2 separate regions of the Homo sapiens genome follow, and region 1 is linked to region 2. The links are contacts of gene promoters, found by promoter capture Hi-C in human tissues and cell types (Jung and others, 2019). All regions are on one chromosome and are shown on one strand. Each heading gives the region's core, a stretch centred on a gene start or on the middle of the fragment in contact. The rest is flanking DNA. Distances are from core to core; before and after follow the strand shown.

The links. Contacts are between HindIII fragments. The study calls those that stand out against the background at their distance.
Region 1: a contact is called between a fragment that was not itself captured here and the fragment with the promoter of STC2 in region 2, in 1 of the 25 tissues and cell types used here (dorsolateral prefrontal cortex).

What each region holds. Positions count from the first base shown.
Region 1 is chr5:173,895,482-173,899,460 of GRCh38, forward strand. All of the region lies in intron 1 of CPEB4 (cytoplasmic polyadenylation element binding protein 4), which reads left to right. Among named protein-coding and RNA genes, the nearest start is that of CPEB4, 9.1 kb to the left of the region's middle. The HindIII fragment of the contact is 4,022 bases long and covers 1-3,583 here.
Region 2 is chr5:173,327,119-173,330,941 of GRCh38, forward strand. It overlaps STC2 (stanniocalcin 2), which reads right to left and starts at 1,296. Exons shown (of 4, transcript NM_003714.3): 1 at 925-1,296. The coding sequence starts at 1,075. It overlaps LOC124901137 (a long non-coding RNA gene), which reads left to right and starts at 1,481. Exons shown (of 2, transcript XR_007059056.1): 1 at 1,481-2,633. RefSeq lists a silencer at 2,490-2,709. The HindIII fragment of the contact is 8,569 bases long and covers 1-3,823 here.

The sequences.
Region 1 (3,979 bases), core at 323-2,822, 570 kb after region 2:
TCCTCAAAATTATATACTGCATCTTATATTTGCAAACAGAACACTGCTGGAGTGCTTCAGTTCTAAAAGTCATGGTGGATTATTAAAATTGTCTAATAGGCAACCTCATTACATTTTCTTGTTTCTTAATACAGTATCGTTCCAAGAAGGATCTTTGCATAGGAAACATTTTCTTTGACTTAGAAGGGGAGAAATCAGTTTTTTCAACTGTAAATTGTGGGTCGGATGGTTCTAGATCTAGCAGAACTGACATATTGGAAAAATCTTCCTCTTTGTAGAAGGCTTTTTAACTAGGTTAGATAGCTTTTCTGATGAAATTAAAACTAATTCCAGGGTAGAGTTTTTTTCTTTTTCTTTTTCTATCTTCAGAGAAGCCATCTTCAGAGAAGCCATGGAATATGATCAGCACATTGTTCCAACACCTTTCAGGAAAAACCTGTTTATCGCAAGCCTAATAAATGTGGTTGTTGCTGGTTGCAACTAGAAAGATGCTACTTAGCTCATGAGTTTAAGTTTTTGAAAGTCATCGTTGTTGGTGTTCATAAGAAAGAAATGGGGAACCTAGTTTTTAAATTAACATATGCCTAGGTTTGAATTTGACAGTTTCAGTTTATTTTCCTTATGACTTTCTCTATTTTGCTAGGAGGAAAATAAGCTTGATAATTCGCTGTCATATTTTTTCAGCGCTGTATTGTACCTCAGTTTTTGGTCTCATCTCACATAAGATAATGTGAATAATGTGCTTCTCTTTAAGGCAGAGAGCCTATAATGTGAGCATTTTAACTTTTTGTGACAAAATTCATTTTATTTTATGTTTAATTGTTCAAAGTTGCCTTGCAGAAATTAAAAGTATGTTTTACCATGATAAATTTAGAGCAATATATTTTTTAAAATTCAAATTTATTGGAGATTCCCATCCATTTTTTCTCACCGCATTTTATCTTATTGAAACAGAATGAGTTCCACCTTTAAGTTTTCAAAAAATACTTAGTAGATAGAAAGATAAAGTTGTTGATACTATTTTCAATCAGTTTCTGAAGGTGAAAAGTGAACAATTATTGAGAAAGGCTATTTTGTGAGCCCAAAAATGTAGAGTGAAGCATAGGCTGTGGACTCAGACTTAAGTTTGACTCTGAATTTGAATGTAATTATTTACTATATGAAGCTGTTGTAAAAATAAATAAAATGCATATATAAAGCTTTAAAAATTTTGTCTCTAAACTCTAATGAGCAGTGTGACCTTGAGTAAATCTTTTAAATTCCAGAAGAAAATACCGTATCAAGAAAATAATAACTGGCCGGGCATGGTGGGTCACACCTGTGATCCTAGTACTTTGGGAGGCCGAGGTGGACGGATCACTTGAGCCCAGGAATTTGAGACCAGGCCTGGGCAACATGGTCAGACCCCATCTCTAGAAAAAATACAAAACACTTTTTCTAAAATATGATAATACCTAACAGTGAAGGGTAATGTGAGGCACCTTATGTATGTGGCCATATTAGGTTGATTAACTTTTTAAATTTAAAATATGGCTTTCTTATATTGAATAAAGTTATGAAATTAGTTACAAATATAGCTTGTGTTACTGTGAAATATTTTAGTCATGCTTATCTTGCTATATATGCTTTATTGAATAAGCTATAGATGCAACCCCAGACAGATAAAATATTTAGCAGAATTATCAATTTTCTCGAAGAGAAGTTTTCTAATTAAATATAAGCTTAAACTTTCATTAGCATTGACAGCCTGTTTCTTTCAGGATTTTGAAAGATTTTGGCCACAGTTGTTTTATTAAGAACTTTAGAACATGTGATTGCTTTTGCATACATTAAAGGAGACTACATTTTAATGGAGAATTTATGATTTTTCAGTAAGAGATATGAAAGGGTGCCATAGATTTGAATTGAGAATAGTTTGGCTTTTATCCTGGAATCAAGAGTTTTTAAAAAATATTTTAATGTATTTAGCACACATTTATTGGAGCACCTACTATGTTATGGACTAAGCACAGGACTGTCATAAAAAATGAATCAGTAACATGGTTTGTAATGTATTTTTGACCTGTGCTAATCTTTGAGTAAGACTGAACATGCATTTTTTTCTCTTAAATATTATAAACAAATTATCAACTAGCCCAATAGTTTCATTTTAATCTATAAATTGTTTAATCATTAAGGCAAACTAACATTCAATTTTAGCTATAACAAAAAATTGTATAAATGGCATTTCCAAACTTTTTTATTAACGTAGTCATTAATGTGTTTATAAATATATGCTTATATTTGGAAATTTTAAATTTTTAGAAAATTATAATGTTTTTGGAAAAATATTTGGAAAGTGTAATTATCAATTATAAATACACACTCGTATAAGTTACCGTATGTTTATATATAACATGTGCTGATTTACATTCTATGACAAAATGGTACCACAAAAGGCAAACTTTAACTTGGATAGCAGAATTCTGGTCCTGTTACATGCCAAAGAAAAACTCCATCAGCTACCTATAGGTGCTCATTCATGTTTACAAATGGAATTATTCAAGTTCAAAGCTTTAAGCTGTACAAGCGCATTTTATATTGTAGGTTATTTTGGTTGGGCAATTTCTATTTGCTAAAGATTTATCAGATATATTCTAATCATTTTTTAGTAGACCAAAACTAAGTTATAATTAGTTCCTCAGTATTATATATTTTAAATCTATATTTATTTTAAAATACCATGTAACAATTTAAATAATAGTTCTTCCAGGTATTCTTGAGGAATGCATCTAGTCAATAGGATCATGGTACTAGTCAGTAAAATAGTTGCTGCCATTTTATTGTCTATGAGACCTTAAAAAAATAAAAATATAAGAACGTGACTCAGAATATTCACATACTCTGAAAAAATGTTATTAGAAAACTATCTCAGTTAATGGAAGTCAGATCTGGGTTCCAGATATGGCTCGGCCATTCATTAGCTATGTGACCTAGGCAAGCTACAGCACCTTCTGGGTCCTTTATTTTCTCATTTCTTTTGTCTGGTATTTTTGAGGATAAAATGAAATATGTCTAATATTTGGCTTCTAGAAGATTCTATTGTTTTAAGAAAGCAACTCATCAAACAGAAATATTAAGTCAAAGTTTTATTCAAAATATAGCACAATTTCTTAAAATCTGAAAACCCGTGTGTAACTGGTGTGTGATAATTTGAACTTAATTTTATTTTTTGAGACAAGGTCTCATTCTGTTGCCCAGACTAGAGTGCAGTAGCGCGATCTTGGTTCACAGCAACCACCACCTCCTGGGTTTAAGCAATTCTCGTGCCTCAGCCTCTCCAGTAGCTGGGACTACAGGCATGTGCCACCAGGCCCATCTAATTTTTGTACCTTTTAGTTCACCATGTTGGCCAGGCTGGTCTCGAACTCTTGACCTCAGGTGATCCGCTCGCTTTGGCCTCCGGAAGTGCTGGGATTATAGGCGTGAGCCACCGCACCTGGCCTGAACTTAATTTTAAATAAATAAAATACAATTCCTAAAGTCACTATACTTAAATAATGGTGGGACTGAGGCTAGATGACACACTGATTTTCTTGAACACTGCTGAAAGTGACCAACTGGTGATATTTTTTTTCTCTCTTGGTAAAGCACCCCCTGACCCATGTCTTCTTAAATTTTTATTATGGAAAAATTTAAATATATTCCATGGTAGACAGAATAGTCTAGTGAACTCCCATGTATGTGTCACCTGGCTTCAACAATTATCAGCTCCTGGACAATCTTGTTTCATCTATACCCTTAATCCTCTCTCTCCCCATTTGTATTATTTTGAAGCAATTGCTTCATATCATATTATTTCATCTGTAAATGGTTCAGTATGTGTCTCTAGAGGAGTCTTTAAGAGAAAACATTAAAATTTTTTTCAAGTTGTTTTTTTAAAGAAGGGTAGTGAGAAACTGAAGCAAGGCCCACATTTCTGTTGTACCTGCTCAGTCTG
Region 2 (3,823 bases), core at 46-2,545:
CACGCGCCGCCGGGGCAGGACCGCACAGGGCCGCCATTCACTCACTTGGGGCGTCCCTAATGGGCACTCGTGCATTCCAGCTCGTGCGGTGAGCGCACGCACGCCGCCGCTGCCGCGTTCACACGGCCCCCCAAAGTCGGGGGAGGGGTCGTGGAGCGAAGGAGCTGTAGGCAGATTTTCTTTCTCTTTCCGAGCTGGGAAAAGGGCCAGCCCCGTGCCCTGCACGCCTGGCTCTGCTTTGCAGCTTGCCGGTGAGCCAAGAGCCGGTAGAGCAGAGGAGGCGCACGGTTCGGGTCGTGTCACCATTTCTTGGCTTGCTGACCTGGCCAGGAGCTGGGGATGGCGGCAGCACCGCGGAGGTACGCTTTGCGCTGCCCTCACGCTCCCTTCCGAAAGCAGTGCCCCCAGGGGGAAAGTTCGCAATGCCATTTGTCTCGCCGGCAAAGTTCTGGGATGTCGGGCATCTTTTGAGGAGGGGGAAGACGCGGCACCCTTACTGAGGCCGGCAGGCCAGGAAGAGAAGTTCTCCGGGCGCAGGGCGCAGCCCAGCTCCGGGGACCCTCTGGGCCTCCCGCGTGCCGGCCGGGATGAAGCGCGCTTTGCACCGGACCCGGGATTCGGGGGCGGGGGCTGGCGCTGGCAGCGTCAGACGCTGCTTCATTTCCCCTCGACCCTGGGGAGGACAGCAACAAGTCCTGCCCCAGCCATTTCATCACCCTGCTAGCACGTGCAGATTCCGGGCCCTCGGAGCCCGGCGCGGACCTCGCCTTGCCTCGCGCTTCCCTTTGCACGTCCCGTGCCATCCCAAGAGTTTGCGTGGCCCTGGGTGGGCGCCTGGCTCCCGGCGAAACGCCTGGGGCGCGCCGCGTGGGTGCACGGTGTCCTCTCCCAGTAGCTCCCGGCTGCGGGGGCACATGCACTTACCTGTATTCTGCAGGGACAGGCGGCCTTTCTGCTGGGAGCTCCTGTCTTGGGGACCCTCGGGTGGGTTGGTGGCGTCGGTCCCCCGCGCCGGGTCAAAGGTGGCCAACACCAAAGCCAGGGTCATGAACTGGCCCAGCCGCTCGGCACACATGGTTCTTGGTATTAACCTCCCGTCGGGAGACCTGGATCCTTTGTGCTCCCCTCTTCCTCCTCCTCCTCTTCCTCCTTCGCCGCTTCCCCTCCTCCTCCCACTCTTCCTTTTTGCTCGCCTTTTCCCTCCTCCTCGCGGCCGCGGCTCGGATAGAGGTTACCCAGCGCCCTCCCGTAGCTCTCCGGAGAGCATGTGACCAGGCCGTTAGCAGCGCCGCGAGTGCCCGGCAATGGCAGGGATGGTGCCTCAAATATCCCTGGAAGCTCTGGTGTCACTTGAATGAAGGAGTCGAGCAGGTGTTGTCCCGGCGGCTGGACCAATCCGAGACCCCGGCCCTTTTGACAACACGGCCGGGAGGCGGGGCCTGCGCTCAACTACTACAGGAGGAAGCCGAGCGCCGCTGGGAGCGCCGGACAAAGTTGCCGACCTGGCGGCGGCCACGCGTTTGCGTGCGTGTGTATGAGTGTGTGTGAGCGCGGCCGGAGATGCGTGCGCGTGTGCGGGTGCTCCAGGGCAATGGTCGAAAGGACTGTACAATATAAGAGCGAATCCAAGCTCCAGTTGCTGTTAAAGGGGGACGGTGTGCTCTGGGACAGTGTCCCTGGGGCCCCTGGCTCGCGTCACACCCACATCGGGTTGGGAAAGTTTCCTCTTTCCGCCGTTTGGAATTCAGTGAGATTCCCAGCCCAGAGGACTTGATAAATTGAAGCAGTTTCCTAGGCACAATGATGCTGTGGGCCAACTGAGCACACATGGGAATTCCTGGCCTTGTGACACTTTGCATTAAAAAGAACCCCACGATTGAAGATAGGAGCAGAAGCACTAGATACAGTATTTGGTCTGAGCAACTGCCCTATCTTCCCGCTTTGGTGGGCCGTGCAACACCTGGAGTGTCGTTTCTCGTCTTTCCCCTAATCCAGACGCATTCCAGGCTGGGCTGCAGGGATCCAGGTGACAGTCAGGACTTGCATCATTTCCAGGAGGGTGGCAGGGAGGCCCAAGGCAGCCCTGAGTCAGCCCGCCGCGGAGCATCGCGTGCCCGGAGGCCAGAGCTTGAAAGGCAACTTTACGCGTCTCCAAACACACTCCTGCATTTTCTCAAAGCGCTGCTCGCCACCCCGCTCCGGGTTCCCTTTTACTCTCCAGTCATCCGATGGAAGTGGTGAGAACAAAAACAAAGACAAAAAAGCTAAATCCGGGGAAGTTATCTCCATCTCCTCCCTTTTCTTGTTCGGCCCCCTCCCCAAGAACCGCCGGGTCGGGATAGCCCCCGGCTACTTTCTCACCCGGCCCGTGGAGGGAAGGAGAAAGTTGGGCGCCGCTTGGAGCGCCTCTTCCCCTGCTGTGTGTGTACGTGTGCACGCTCACGTCTCCCCCGCGCCGGGGCCGGGGACAGGAACTGCTCTCGGTCCCGTCACCCCACGGCGCAGCTCGGGGGGCTCGCAGGGCTGGGGGAGGGCGGGGACACGAGCGCCGCGCCCAAGCGCCCCAGGGCACGCACCCGGCGTTGGCGCGCACTCGCCCCTCCCCCCGTCCCCACCCTCCTCCTGGAGAACAGGTGAGCCCCGGTACCAGCTCTCGATCCCCCACCCCCGCCCCGCGCCCCGCCCGCGCCCTCTGCGGTAATGCGCCTGGGAAGTTTCATCACCCACTGCCCAGGCGACGCGGCCCTGGGTCTCCGCGGCGGGGCGCACTGCCCGCCTGGTTGGGGCCGCCATGTGACACGGCTGGGGGAGGGGGCGAGGAGACACGCGGGCAGGTCATCTTTTGGCCGGCGCTTGACTTCCAAAGCTTTCCTTTCCCGTGTCCCGGCTGCACGCGGGAGTGGGGAAGGCGGAGGCGGGGGGCCAGGATGGCCACGGCTGGCCGCAGCTATCCGGCGTGTCGAGCTCTCCTGAGTCGGAAGGAAGGAGAGGAGGGGGTGGGGAGGGCGTCTTCAGAGTGGGCTTCCCCTGCGCTGGAGCGCCAGGGAGCATCCATAAATTGTCACTTTGAAGGTCCGAACCTGCGGCGGTAGGGACCATGCCCACTATTCTAATAGCAATTACTCCGCGCAGCCTTGGATCTTTTGTGCAAGGACGTGCGGGTACAAATACATTAAAACGGCCAGTTCACATTGCCCACCCTGCTTGTGTTTGCATAGTTAACTTAGCTTCCTAGTTTATGGAAAACTACCTCCTGTAGATCCTTAAAAACAAAGCAAACAAACGACACAGCGGCATTCTGGCCTCTCCTAACTAACTCTTTAAGGCTCTGAATTTCCTGAGAACAAGTAGCCATTTGGTCCCACTCCTGCTTATGGGTACAGCTGGGTAGACTTTCTTTCTATGTGGCCTCTTTTGTAGGAGAGAACATGAGCAATATTGACATTAAGAAGGCATCTGGTCACCTGTTTTTTTTTGAGAAGCAGAAATAGGAGAGAGCTCCATGGGGCAGGAGCAAGCCCTCTTTTGCCAGATGCAGACACTTAGTGTGCTGGGCAGAGGCCTCCCAGGATACCTGGAGCGATGGCCAGGGGGATGGAGCTCTCCCTGCTCCTGCTTTGCCCAGCCTTTGGCTAGGCCTACCTTTTGCTACCATGGGGCCCCTGGGGCTGCCCTCAGAGGACCTACATAGTTTCAAAGTTCGTCCTGAGGCTGTTTGCTCCTGCCTTCCAAGGGACATTCCTGGTTTTCACCTGAGCCAACTGCCCCTTTAGAACCAAAAGAACACATAGTAGCTAGAATTGGAGGTGGCGTAAGCACAGGC